2 separate regions of the Homo sapiens genome follow, and region 1 is linked to region 2. Evidence: promoter capture Hi-C in human tissues and cell types (Jung and others, 2019). All regions are on one chromosome and are shown on one strand. The core of a region is centred on a gene start or on the middle of the fragment in contact, and the rest is flanking DNA. Distances in the headings are between cores, read along the strand shown. Region 1 holds the start of ZNF891 (zinc finger protein 891). Region 2 holds the start of PGAM5 (PGAM family member 5, mitochondrial serine/threonine protein phosphatase).

Region 1 (6,486 bases), core at 2,772-5,271, 420 kb before region 2:
GTTGCCCAGGCTGGAGTGCAGTGAAGCAATCTCGGCTCATTGCAACCGCCGCCTCTTGGGTTCAAGTGATTCTCCTGCCACAGCCTCCCATATAGCTGGGATTACAGGCGCCCACCACCACACTCAGCTAATTTTTTTTTTTTTTTTTTTGTATTTTTAGTAGCGACAGGGTTTCACCAAGTTGGCCAGGCTGGTCTCGAACTCCTGACCTCAGGTGATCTCCCCACCTTGGCCTCCCAAAGTGCTGGGATTACAGGCGTGAGCCACCGTGCCCGGCCACCCAGCTCTTTTACTTTTAAGGACCCCTGTTATTACACTAAGCCCACTGAAATAATCCAGGATAATCTCTCCCCATCTTGAGATCCTTCATTGAATCACAACTGCAAATTTTATTTTGCAGTATAAGGTAAAATATTCCCAGGTGCTGGGGATATCTCTGGGGAGCCATTATTTTGGCTGCCACAAGGGCAGAGATGGGCTGAAAAGAAGCTCCAAGTATCGGCAAGAAGGCTATGAAAGTTACTATTTGAGGCACACGCAGTTCCAAAGCACAGCTCCAATCAAACACTTAGCGTACAAGTTTCACAACAACGTTCTGGACCCTTTTCAACTTAACTCCCACTACACTTGCCCCATATTCTCTAAGGATCACTTTAATGCCATCTATGCTGTGACGCCTTCCCACTATCTCAGAGAGGATCAGTGGTTCTATCATCCGTAAACATGAAGGACTCTGCCCATGCCCTATTCCAGCACTTCAACGCTGCCTTACGGTACCAAGATTTGTCTGTCTCCCTTATGAGATAGTGAACCACTTAAGAATTAGGACAATCTCATTCTAAATCCTGGGAAGAGGCTAGCAAAGTGCTTAGCACTTCATATTCATTCACTCTGACATGTGACTATACTTAACCAGCACTCACATTGACAGGTACAACCTCGTCAGGAACCGCATTTCACTTGGGGACATGGAGTACATGTTCATTAATAAAGAGAACAGGGTCTCTTCAAGTTCTGAATAGGTTTACCAGTATTTGCTTCAGCAAAGGGCAAGGTATGATCAGCAAAAAGGACCCAGCAGCCACAAAGTTAAAACTCGGTAACCAATAGACATGGCAAAGATATACTTAAAGATACAAAAGGCAAAGATCCTGCATCTGTCAAAACTCAGCAAATGTACACTTAAGATTTGCGCTTTTCATGTTATGTAAATTTTACATCTAAAGAAAAATCTAAACAAATATAGAATTCTAATTAATAATACATACGTATTCTGAAATTTTTAAGGAATACGTACCCATGTCAATTTACTTTGAAAAAAATTTAAAAATACAATGAACTGATGGATAAAAAGAGGGACAGATGGGTATGTGTTAAAATTAGGTACAGTAAAATATTAATGGTAGAGTCTAGATGGGAAGGTTTATAAGTATTCACTGTAAACTTCTTTTAATTTAGCTGTATGCTCAAAATTCTTCATAATAAAATTTTGAACAGGAAATGTTAGGATCAGTCAGCAAGGAGATATTGTGTGGAAAGAGGAAAAAATAATGCTCTTGGATGTTCATTACGAGTCAAAGAGGCACATACACAGACAAAGGTGGCCTATATCATATCTTGTCCCAACCTTGCTTCATAGCCAGAAGAATTAAAAGCCCTGGCTGACATGAGACATGCTAGAAAGAGTACTGCTGATGAAAGTAAAAGAGTCTCTTGTAGGCACAACAGAGATATTAACAATAAGAAATTTCTTTTTCCTTAAAATACTTTTTTTTTGAGACGGAGTTTCGCTCTTGTTGCTCTTGTTAATTTAAGATGTGTATCTCAAATCTCTGCCCTTGTGACTGGCATATGTTAATTAGCTGGGCATGGTGGCTGGCGCCTGTAATCCCAGCTACTAGGGAGGTTGAGGCAGGAGAATTGCTTGAACCCAGGAGGCAGAGGTTGCAGTGAGCCAAGATCGAGCCATTGCACTCCAGCATGGGCAACAAGAACAAAACTCTATCTCAAAAAAAAAAAAAAAAATTCTCAGATTTTCTTGACAATTGAATATAATCTATAAACAGAACTGTTTTTATTCTTACTCATCCTTTATTCTTCTAGTAAGAATTGCCTAGTAAGGTTTTGAAGTTTTTCTCATATAGTTCACATATATTTCTAGCTAAAATTATTTTCTTCCTATTGTGAAGACTTTTTAAAAATAAAAGTATGTGCTAACTTGTTGAGGACGGCAATCAATCTATTAGCTTATATATTTCCTTTTCAGTCACTTTACTACAAATTATTGATAGTAATTGAATCTCTTCTCATTTTGGGGACTTAATTAGTTAATTAATTAACAAGGATAATTTTGTAATCTCTTTTCCAGAAGGTAAGCCTCATATCTACTTAAATATTGTCCTAAGTAGAATTTCCAGACAGTGCTTATATAAAATACTGATAAGCAGAAATTCTCATTTAATTTATGATGTGTATCTCAAATCTCTGCCCTTGTGACTAGCATATACTAAGAGCTAAAGAAATGCATGCTGAGAGAAGTAATCAAAAAACAAATGTAACTTTCAAAAAGAGGCAGGAGCGTGTGCAACTTACCATCCAAGAGGCTTTGGAAGATGGGGGACAATTTTAGTAAAACAGAAGAGATTAGTTATGTCACAAGAGAAAAGTTAGTGTGGAGGTAATTTTCAAAAGGGTAGGGAGGATTTGTGCTATCCAGTTCTCGGAGACCTAACTGCAGTCATTTCTAACCTAATAACACTTGTTGGCTGGCATTCTGGGTGACATCCTGCCTTCCCTTTTACTTTTTTTTTTTTAATTAACAGTATCTTTCTGCAATTAATGTATAGCTGGAATTGAAATTGTTCACCTTCTGCATACACTTTGGGTGGGATCTACGTACGAAATCTTGATGTTAACCTTATCTTTGACACTCATATTATGTGTTAGATGGCGTATATATATCTAGTGTCAAGGGAAAATAAAAATATAGTAATTAAACTTATGATCTGTCTCTGAAAATAAAAAAAATAGATTAACCACACAAACACGCCTTCAGTTAATCTATCTGATTAAAAAACAAAACAAAGATGAGGAAGCTAAGAGCTAGAGATGCAGGATTTGTTTTTAAAAGACCACACACGAATCGGCGTCACTATTTCAACAAATACTAGAAAGGCCATATGCAAAATTTTAAACATCTATCCCAGCTGGGGGGAAAAATGGAAGTTAGACTAGAAGAAACCTTATTTTGTATTACTGAAAATATCTGGTTCAAACTTACCACCACCGCCGCCCACTCTGCGTCAATCTCCAGGTGCAGCCGTTATTCTCCACAGAACAAGAACGTCCGCCGTGAACGCCGGGGCCGCGCGAGGGACAGAAAGTGACTGAGGCAAGGGGTGACGATCACCGTTAAATTTTTTCATTGACGAAATTACCGTCTACCTAGAAATACGAAGCTAATACACTGCTACATTACTAAAGGGCTCAACACGCGCCTGATGACGATGCAAACACAAAATTCAGCACTTTCGTATATACCTGCAATAAGCAACTAGAAGGTTCGATGGGAGAAAGCGATCCCGTCACAAAGGCAGCAGCAACAGCAAAACAGAGAACGCGACTCCATTCACCAGCGGAGCGCGAAGAGCGGCGTCAGAGGTGAGTCTGAGGCCGGCTCGGCACGGCGGCGCCACCTCCCCGTGGCCTGACGTCACGCACGCGCACGCGCCCCGCCCCCATTGGTCCTACGCCCGCCCCTGCTGCGAACGCACGCACACGCACCCACAACACACACCGTTACGCACGCGCCCCAGCCTGGCGTTCAGGCCACGCTCCGCCCCCAGCCCGTCAGCCGCGCGCCCCGGGACCCTAGAGCCGGCGATTCGTCGCCGGCGCCGCAGCCGCCACTCTGTGCCGGACCCTGCGGGCCTTCGGCCCAGAGCGCGTCCGTGACGCACAGACCAGGCCCCTCTGCGGGGCGGCGCAGGAGCTCCTGGGAAACGTAGTTCGGCCTCGCGTCCCCCTCGGGCGGGACCGCGGACGCCTGGAGGCAGGCACTGAGGACGGGTGAGCATGCGGGCCTGTGGCTCGTTCACCCGGGACAAGTCCCTCGTGGGATCAGCCTGGCCCGCTGAGTTCTCCTGCGTGCAGGGATCGCCTCACGGGAGTCTGAGCAGCAGGGAGCCTGCCCGGGAGGCGGCGGTGGGAGAGGCCCTTGAGGGAGGAGGGGCTACTTACCGGGTGCGAGTGGAGCGCGGGGAGCGAGTGGGGACCAGGGGCGCGCGGGGCGGAGGGGTCCCGGGCTGGCTGCGGGTGCCACGCAGGGAGCGCTGGGGGGCCGGGGATGCGCGTTTGCCTCCTTCTCTAAGCAACACGGGAGGGCTAAAGGGTGCACGCCTCTGTCCAGCAGCCTCTCTTGAATCTCTAAACCTAGTAATGAGTTGAATCACAGCCATCGTTTTTTTCACCTATTGCCTTATACTGTGGTTGAATGCGATATGGTTTTATTTCTTTAATACTCTGGTGTATTCAATTGGCTGTTTCCCTTTGACTTCACCTATGCTCACAAGATTGTGTTTTAATCTTTTTGTGTACTATCCTTGCCCGTTATACTAACAAGATTTTACAAGCTTCATGAATAATTTGGACAGCACAGTCTCTCTTCTATTCTGTAAAACAGGTCACCACCCCTCACCGCCCCCCGCCCGCCTCCAAAAGTTTGGTGCTATTTGGTCTTAAAATATTTAGTACGCATTTAACTTCTGACTCAATTTTTTTTTTTTTTTTTTTTGAGACAGAGTTTCGCTCTTTGTTGCCCAGGCTGGAGTGCAATGGCGCCATCTTGGCTCACAGCAACCTCCGCCTCCCGGGTTCAAGTGATTCTTCTGCCTCAGTCTTGTGAGTTGCCGGGATTACAGACATGAGCCACCACGCCCAGCTAATTCTGTATTTTTAGTGGAGATGGGGTTTCTCCATGTTGGTCAGGCTGGTCTGGAACTCCCGACCTCAGGTGATCAGCCTGCCTCGGCCTCCCAAAGCGCTGAGATTACAAGCGTGAGCCACCGCACCCGGCCCTGACTCAATTTTTTAAAAAGTCTCATTGATTAGGTTTTTTAGTTCGTATTCTGTTTTAGATACCTTTCCTAGATAATTGTTTTTAATCTAATTTTTCAAATTTATTGGCATAAAATTGCCCATGCTATTTTATCACTGTAAGTAATTTCTATGGTGATTTTTAAAATCACCACTTTTTAATATTTTACTGCTGTAATTGTTATTTTTTTCTTTTTTGAACCTAATTATCTAGGCCTTTTTTTCTTGATTACTCCTATAAGGTATATGTGTACATAGTCTTTTCAAAAATGTAGATTTGGTTTTGGTTTTTTTGTTGTTTTGTTTTGGTCTTTTTTGGGGAGGGGGGTCCTATTACAGTAAGTTTTGCTCTTAATTTTTAAATTTTTCTTTTACTTTGTCTCTGTTTTTCTACTTTTTTTTTTTTTTCGAGACAGAGTTTCACTCTGTCTCCAGGCTGGAGTGCAGTGGCGTGATCTCGGCTCACTGTAGCCTCTACCACCCGGATTCAAGCGATTCTCCTGCCTCAGGCCCCACCACGCCCGGCTAATCCAGCTAATTTTTGTTTTTGTTTGTTTGTTTGTTTTTGAGACAGAGTCTCTCTCTCTCGCCCAGGCGGGAATGCAATGGCAGGATCTCTGCTCACTGCAACTTCCACATCCCGGGTTCAAGCCATTCTCCTGCCTCAGCCTCTGGAATAGCTGGGATCACAGGCGCACACTGCCATGCCCGGTTAATTTTTTGTATTTTTTAGTAGAGACGGGGTTTCACGGTGTTGCCCAGGCTGGTCTCGAACTCTTCAGCTCAGGCAATCCGCCCGCCTTGGCCTCCCAAAGTGCTAGGATTACAGGCGTGAGCCACCGTGCCTGGCCATCTGCTTCTTGATTTGACTGGGTAATTAATTTACTACTCTTTATTTGTGCTCCAAGAAATGTGTGTGTACATTTTTAAGAGCTGAATATGTTAAAAGACTCATAATAAAAACAGGAAACACCTTAACCCCATCTCTTCCCAGTGGCAACCACTTGGAAATATTTAAGCAGTTCTGGCTTCGAACTCCTCTCAGTATTTTTTTATTCACCGATTTGTGACATTATTTTAAAATTTTTATCATGTTAAATAAGAACTTTGGCTGCCTTCTTTCTACATCCTTAAATCACAATGTAATTATTTTACAAATATTATAATGTAGTTCTCCCACAAATTTTGGATAAATATGTTCAGTGTTTTCATTTGATGACTACTCTTTAGTACTGAGCCATAATATGTTTCTTTCTTGTGCAAGGTTTACCTTTCTTGTTTTTAATGACTGCCTTTTTTATTCATTTGCTTAGTTTTTCTTAAATCTATGTAAAATGTCTTTTGGTTCCATTTTCCTCAAGGGCTAATCTGTCATACAGTCTTATCACTTTT
Region 2 (7,050 bases), core at 3,101-5,600:
GCCCCAGGAGGCCCAGTGCCCCAAGCACTTTCAAGAAAGCTGACCAAGGGGGTCGGCGGAGGACCTGCACCCAGTCACATAACCAAGGCGCCAGCAGATATGCACCTGGCCACATAACCACGAGGGTCCACAGAGGATCTGAACCCACCACATACCCAGCGGGGTCAGAGTGCGGTCCTTCTCCAGGGAGCCATCCACGTGGTACTGGGAATGCCTGATGAGGAAGATGTGCCGCGTGGCCTTGGCTTTGTAGTGGTCCAGCTTGGACGCCAGCTCTTCTTCCCCAGATTCCACGTTCCTCTTCCGCACGTTGATCAGAGACAGTGGTTCTCGCCTGATGTTGAAATACAAGATATGTCCTTGAGACCTCTGTTCCCAAGTTTGAGTTTTTCTGACAAGATGTTATTTCCAAATTGTCAGACTATTTGGGAAGAGCATGGAGAGAAGACAAGGCCCTTGGCACAGCCCTGGGGAGGCCTCTCTGAGCATACCGCCACTCTCCCTCCCACAAAGCTAGTGCCAGGTCTGTTCTGAGTGATGCGCTGGAGAGCAAAACAGACAAGCAAAGCCCTGTGCATCTTCTTCTCTAATGAGAGGCAGACAGTGAACAGCAGGAGACAGACTACCCCAAACGCAACTGTGGTTACGGAGAACGCCAGGCTAGGAAAGAGGACAGCGGCTATCGGGGCGCAGGCGGAAAGTGTCCACGGGGCCAAGATGGGCCTCCCTGACCATGATGCTTCAGCAGAGCCTAGAACTGCAATGCCCAACAGCAGCCACTAGCTATGAGGATGTTTCAATTCAAAATTTAAGCAAAATTAAATAAAATTAAAACATCATGTCCTCAGTCATACTAAGCACATTTTAGACCCTCAGGCCGGGTGCAGTGGCTCACACGTGTAATCCCAGCATTTGGGAGGCTGAGGTGGCCAGATCAACTGAGGTCAAGAGTTCGACACTAGCCTGGCCAACATGGTGAAATTGCACCTCTACTCAAAATACAAAAATTAGCCGGGCTTGGTGGCACACGCCTGTGATCCCAGCTACTTGGGAGGCTGAGGCAGGAGAATCGCTTGAACCTGGGAGGCGGAGGTTGCAGAGAGCCGAGATCGTGCCACTGCACTCCAGTCTGGGCGACAGAGTGAGACTCCGCCTCAGAAAATAAATAAATAAACAAACACTCAGTGAGGAAGAAAACATTCCCATTATGAAGGTCTGTTCCAGAGCTGCTGGAATCTGAAAAAGAGTGGATCCCAGCACTTTGGGAGGCCGAGGTGGGCAGATCACTGGAGCCCAGGAGTCCAAGACTAGCCTGGGCAACACAGGGGGACCCCGTCTCTACAAAAACATTAAAAAATTAGCCGGGCAAGGTGGTCCACAGCTGTAGTCCCGGCTACTCAGGAGGCTGAGGTGGGAGAATTGCTTGAGCCTAGGAGGGAGCCATGATCTTGCCACTGCACTGCACTGCACTCCAGCCTGGGCAACAGAGCGAGACCCTGTCTCAACAGCAACAAAAAAAGTTCAACGCGGCAGAGCTGGGAATAGCAAAAGTCGAACCTGCTGGTATTTACTCGCTGAGACAGTGGCGGAAAAGGAAGCTGTGGAAGGGCACGGTGGTGACTCAAGGGCTCCGTTTGGGCCACGCCGACCTGGGGGCCTGTCATAAACCAGGCCAAGACTCAAATTGGCAGGTATGGGGGAGTCAGGCTGAGCCAGAGAAAATATTTGGGAGCTATAGGCACAGAGACAGGAAGCCGTAAACTGCATGAGACCTCCAGGAAGAAGCTGGAGATTTCACCAGATGAGGCTCTGGAACTTTCAAGTGTGGACAGGTGAGACTCAAGAAGAAACATGCTGTCTTCTAGCACCTTCCTGTAGTTGCTCATGCCTTCTGTCTGTATAAGTCTTTCCCAACCCACAAGGCCCAATTCACTTCTCCCCAGACATGACAAGCAAATACAGAACACCTGCTTAAAAGAGAAAGGCTGGGCTCAGCTCCCGGTTCTACTTCAAGTTCTTTTTTTTCTTTTTTGAGACAGAGTTTCACTCTATCACCCAGGCTGGAGTGCAGTGGCACGATCTGGGCTCACTGCAGCCTCCACCTCCTGGGCTCAAGTGATTGTCCTGCCTCAGCCTCCCAAGTAGCTAGGACTACAGGTGCATGCCACCATGCCTGGCTAATTTTTTTGTATTTTTAGTAAATACAGAGTGTCACCGTGTTGGTCAGGCTGGTCTCGAACTCCTGACCTCAAGTGATCCGCCCACCTCAGCCTCTCAAAATGCTGGGATTACAGGTGTGAGCCACCGCACCCAGCCTACTTCAAGTTCTTTAACGGCAGAGTAAATCTGTTTCCTTAAAAAGACCTAAGAAATTCAGAATATTGATTCAGAATTTCTGATTTTTCAGAATTCTGATTTTTAAAAAAGAATATAACAGGCTGGGCATGGTGGCTCATGCCTGTAATCCCAGCACTTTGGGAGGCCGAGGTGGGAGGATCACCTAAGGTTGGGAGTTCAAGACCAGCCTGACCGACATGGAGAAACCCCGTCTCTACTAAAAATACAAAATTAGCTGGGCATAATGGCGCGTGCCTGTAATCCCAGCTACTCGGGAGGCTGAGGCAGGAGAATTGCTTGAACCCGGGAGGCGGAGGTTGCAGTGAGCCGAGATTGCACCATTGCACTCCAGCCTGGGCAACAAGAGCGAAACTCCGTCTCAAGGAAAAAGAAAAAAGAAAAGAAGGAAAAAGAATGTAACTCCAGTCTAATCATGAGAAAACCTTCAGAGAAGTCTCAATTGAGGGACCTTCTACCAAACCCCTGACCAGGACGCCTCAAACACTCATGATCATCAAAACAAGTCTGAGAAATTGTCACAGCCAAAACATGCCTACGGAGGCATGAAGACTACTTGTCATGTGGGACCCTAGAACAGAACAGCAGGTAAAAGCTGAGGAAATCTCAATGAAACATGAACCTTAGTTAACAGTAATGTATTATAAACTAATATAATAACTATAATTAATCTATATTATTTTGGCTCATTAATTTTGATATATACACCATGCTTAGTGTATGATGCTAATAATAGAGGAAATAAGGTTAACAAAAGATAAAAATCTAATATAAAGTACCTAACGCAACCACAGTAGTATAATTCTGTGCCCCCTTTCTCAAAGTACTGAGTATAATGAGGAGTTAGGACTGGGAAAACCATCCTTGCCGCTAGAGCAGTCCTGGCCGACAGAAACAGAATGCCAGCAACATGTGAAATTATACATTTTCTAATAGCAACATTAAAAAGAAACAGGTGAATTTCGATCATACTTTTAATTCAATATGCTAAAAATACTATTTCAACACATAACTAATGTTAAAAACCTGCACTACTTTTTTTTTTTTTCCTTTGAGACAGGCTCTGTTGCTCAGGCTGGAGTGAAGTGGCGGGATCTCGGCTCACACTGTGCAGCCTGGGACCCCTGGACTCAAGGGATCCTCCTACCTCAGCCTCCCGAGTAGCTGGGACCACAGGCGCGCGCCACCTCGCTCGGCCAATTTTTTTTGTATTTTTTGTAGAGATGGGGGTCTCACTATGTTGCCCAGGCTGGTTTCAAATTTCTCAAGCGATCCTCCGGCCTCAGCCTCCCAAACGCTGGGATTACAGGCCTGAGCTACCGCACCCGGCCCTGCTTGCGTTAAGTTTAAATTGACGTAAACTAAGCATTCCCTTCAGGAATCACACGAGCCATATTTCAAACGCTCAATAACCGCACGCAGCTCGCGGGCGCGCTCCTGCAAACGCCCCTGAAGGAGGCCCGGCTTCCACCTCAGCCTCGCCCCGGCCCGCGCTCCGGCGATGGCACCCAGGGCGGACTCGCAGGGGCGGGGAGAAGGGCGAGGACGCGACGGAGCTCGGCCACAGAAGCCGGCGGGAAGGGTCAGCCGCCCCCGGAACCCTCCGCGCAGAGCGGCCCCGGAAAGCGGCTCCTCCGCTGGGGAAAGCAGACGGCGACCCCAGATCCCGACCCGATCGCAACCTTAAACCTGGTCCCGATCTCGATCCCAACGGTAACACCTGCCCTGACCCCCATCCCGACCCCGGCCCCAAACAGCCCCGCGCGCACCTGTCCCAGTTGGGGTCCCAGACACCGGGGCCCGGCCGCGCGCCCCCCGCCCAGGCCGGCGGCTCAGCCGGGCGTGGCTCCGCGTCCCCGCCTGCGCGCGGCTTCCCTACCGCCACGGCCGAGAAGAGCACGGCGGCCGAGCCCCCGGCCAGCCCGCAGGCCGCCAGCTGCAGCGCCTGCCGGAACGCCATGCCGCTTGCTCCCGCGCCGGCCCGCGCAGGCGCCCACGGCCCCGACGGCGCTCCGCGAGGAACACGCTTCCCCCGGCTGCCGCTTCCGGGCGGCGGGGGCGGAAGTCCCGCCTCCTGGGGCGCGGCAGGACGCGGGGCAGCCTTGCGCGAAGGGGCGTTTTCGTGGAGCCACCTGCCGCGCCACGCTCCAGTCCCGTCACTTGTGCTCGCGAGCGCCGGTGCGCGCAGGTGCGGGCGGGGTTGTGGGGACGCCGGGAGGGCGGCGCGGTACTTTCCAGAAGGTTCCGCACCGGAAGCGCCTGCCGAGGCCGGAGGCTGGGTGCAGGGGCGGAGACGCGGAGAACTTGGGATCCTGGTTTAAGGGAGCTGGGAAGCTGCCGCAGGTTTGTTTAAACGATATTTTTTTGGTGGCGGAACACGAAGTAAAGTTTTCCGTCGGCGCAGTTCCTGCGTGTGCTGTTCAAGCGGCCTGAAGTGCGTTCAGGTTCGGCCGGGCTGTCCCTCCTCCTGGTCCCGACCCCTCAAACCCCGGGCCGAACACCGCCCTCTCCTGCGGGACAGTCTTTCTATGGCCGGCGCGTTTCGCCTAGCAGGGTCCTCAGAGGGACCGCGTTAGAGCCTGGGTTTCCTTCCAGGGGGACCAGCGCTCCCTGGGTGGACCGACCCCACCGCTTACCCATTGCTGGACGCCTGCGTGCACCGACCCCACCGCTTACCCATTGCTGGACGCTTGCCCTGTTGCCATCTCCTCGCTAGCGTGAACAGTGCTGCGTGCAGATCTCTCTTTCATTGATTGTTTTGCGTCTGTACCCAGAAGTGGGATTGCTGGACCATCTCTGCCCATTTTAAAATTGGGAAATGACATGATCTGATTTAAGCTATTTAAAAATCACTTGGGCCTGGGCTCGGTGGCTCACGCGTGTAATCACAACACTTTGGGAAGCCGAGACAGGCGGATCACCTGAGGTCAGAAGTTTGAGACCAGCCTGGCCAACATGGTGAAACCCGGTCTCTACTAAAAATACAAAAATTAGCCGGGCACGGTGGCTCCAGCCTGTAATACCAGCTACTCAGGAGGCTGAGGCAGGAGAGTTGCTTGAACCCAGGAAGCGGAGGTTGCAGTGAGCTGAGATTGCCTCACTGCACTCCAGCCTGGGCAACAGAGTGAAACAATGTCTCAAAAAAATAAAAATAAAAAAACTGAATGGTTCCACAGAAATACTGAGACTTCTGCTTAAACAGGCTTTCTTGAACCTGTACGCTTCCAGTTGGGTCTGCTGCTTCCAGGTCATTTACTAAAAATGATAGGAAGATTTAAAAAATAAAAATAAAAGGAAGGCCGGGCGTGGTGGCTCACGCCTGTAATCCCAGCACTTTGGGAGGCCTAGGTGAGCGGATCACGAGGTCAGGAGCTCGAGACCATCCTGGCTAACACGGTGAAAACCCGTCTCTACTAATAATACAAAAAAAAAAAAAAAAAATAGGGCATGGTGGCGGGTGCTTGTAGTCCCAGCTACTAGGGAGGCTGAGGCAGGAGAATGCCGTGAACCCGGGAGGCGGAGCTTGCAGTGAGCCGAGATCGCGCCACTGCACTCCAGACTGGGCGACAGAGCGAGACTCTGTCTCAAAAAAATAAAGGAAAATTGGGCCGGGCGCAGTGCCTCACGCCTGTAATCCCAGCACTTTGGGAGGCTGAGGTGGGCGGATCACGAGGTTAGGAGATCAAGACCAGCCTGACCAACATGGTGAAACCCCGTCTTTACTGAAATACAAAAAAGCCTGGCGTGGTGGTGCGCGCCTGTAGTCCCTGCTACTCGAGAGCCTAAGGCCGGATAATCGCTTGAACCTGGGAGGCAGAGGTTGCAGTGAGCCAGGATGGTGCCACTGCACTCCAGCCTGGGTGACAGAGACTCTGTCTCAAAAAAAAGAAAATCAGCCAGGCTCAGTGGCTCATGCCTGTAATCCCAGCACTTTGGGAGGCCGAGGCGGGCAGATCACCTGAGATCAGGAGTTTGAGACCAGCCTGGCCAACATGGTGAAACCCCATCTCTACTAAAAATACAAAAATTAGCTGGTACATACCTGTAATCCCAGCTACCCAGGAGGCTGAGGCAGGAGAATCGCTGGAATCCAGGAGGCAGAAGCTGCAGTGAGCTGAGATCACACTACTGCACTCCAGCCTGGGTGACAGAGCAAGACTCCATCTCAAAAAATAAAATAAAAAACAAGGGAAAATCCACAAGGACATAGTTGAATCCATAAGAAGAAATGACAGCAGATAAATCAGTTAACAAAAGTTCAAGAGCTGGAGATCAGATCTTTATCGACCTGAGAATATGGAACACCAGTGCCTATGTGGAAGGAAACCAGGAAGCAAGTTCATTTAATCCAGTGAGTCTGGAAGAGTCTGGGAGTTGGCAGCATTAGCCTCCTGTCTGAGAGCTGTGGGGCTGAAAGCAGGAGCATTTAGAGGAAAAGGTTGCCTTCCACATTTCGTTTCTCCCCCACATGTTCAGGGGAATAGCTCACTTTCATCACCGTGGAGCACTAGAGAAAGGCCATTCCAGGGGACTTGAACAGGAGGGTTCTGGATTTCAGGACACCAAGCATAGCTCAGATTGGGGATGCAGTAATAAAGATGGGATTATACAGAGTTCACATAAGGAAGAGTAGGACCTCTAACCCCTTTCCTCCAGATAGCCACAAGAATGTTGGCCACTAGGCTCATTCCCTGC

Evidence for each region. Contacts are between HindIII fragments. The study calls those that stand out against the background at their distance.
Region 1: a contact is called between the fragment with the promoter of ZNF891 here and the fragment with the promoter of PGAM5 in region 2, in 1 of the 25 tissues and cell types used here (liver).

The regions. Positions count from the first base shown.
Region 1 is chr12:133,127,809-133,134,294 of GRCh38, reverse strand. ZNF891 (zinc finger protein 891) reads left to right here and starts at 4,021. Exons shown (of 2, transcript NM_001277291.2): 1 at 4,021-4,068. It overlaps ZNF10 (zinc finger protein 10), which reads right to left and starts at 3,668. Exons shown (of 5, transcript NM_015394.5): 1 at 3,541-3,668. RefSeq lists enhancers at 2,034-2,203, 3,286-3,565 and silencers at 3,616-3,855, 4,226-4,405. The HindIII fragment of the contact is 13,822 bases long and covers 1-6,486 here.
Region 2 is chr12:132,708,142-132,715,191 of GRCh38, reverse strand. PGAM5 (PGAM family member 5, mitochondrial serine/threonine protein phosphatase) reads right to left here and starts at 4,350. Exons shown (of 6, transcript NM_001170543.2): 1 at 4,125-4,350; 2 at 156-334. The coding sequence starts at 4,315. LOC124903063 (a long non-coding RNA gene) reads left to right here and starts at 4,597. Exons shown (of 2, transcript XR_007063551.1): 1 at 4,597-4,698. RefSeq lists silencers at 3,834-3,943, 4,154-4,613 and an enhancer at 4,784-4,833. The HindIII fragment of the contact is 20,255 bases long and covers 1-7,050 here.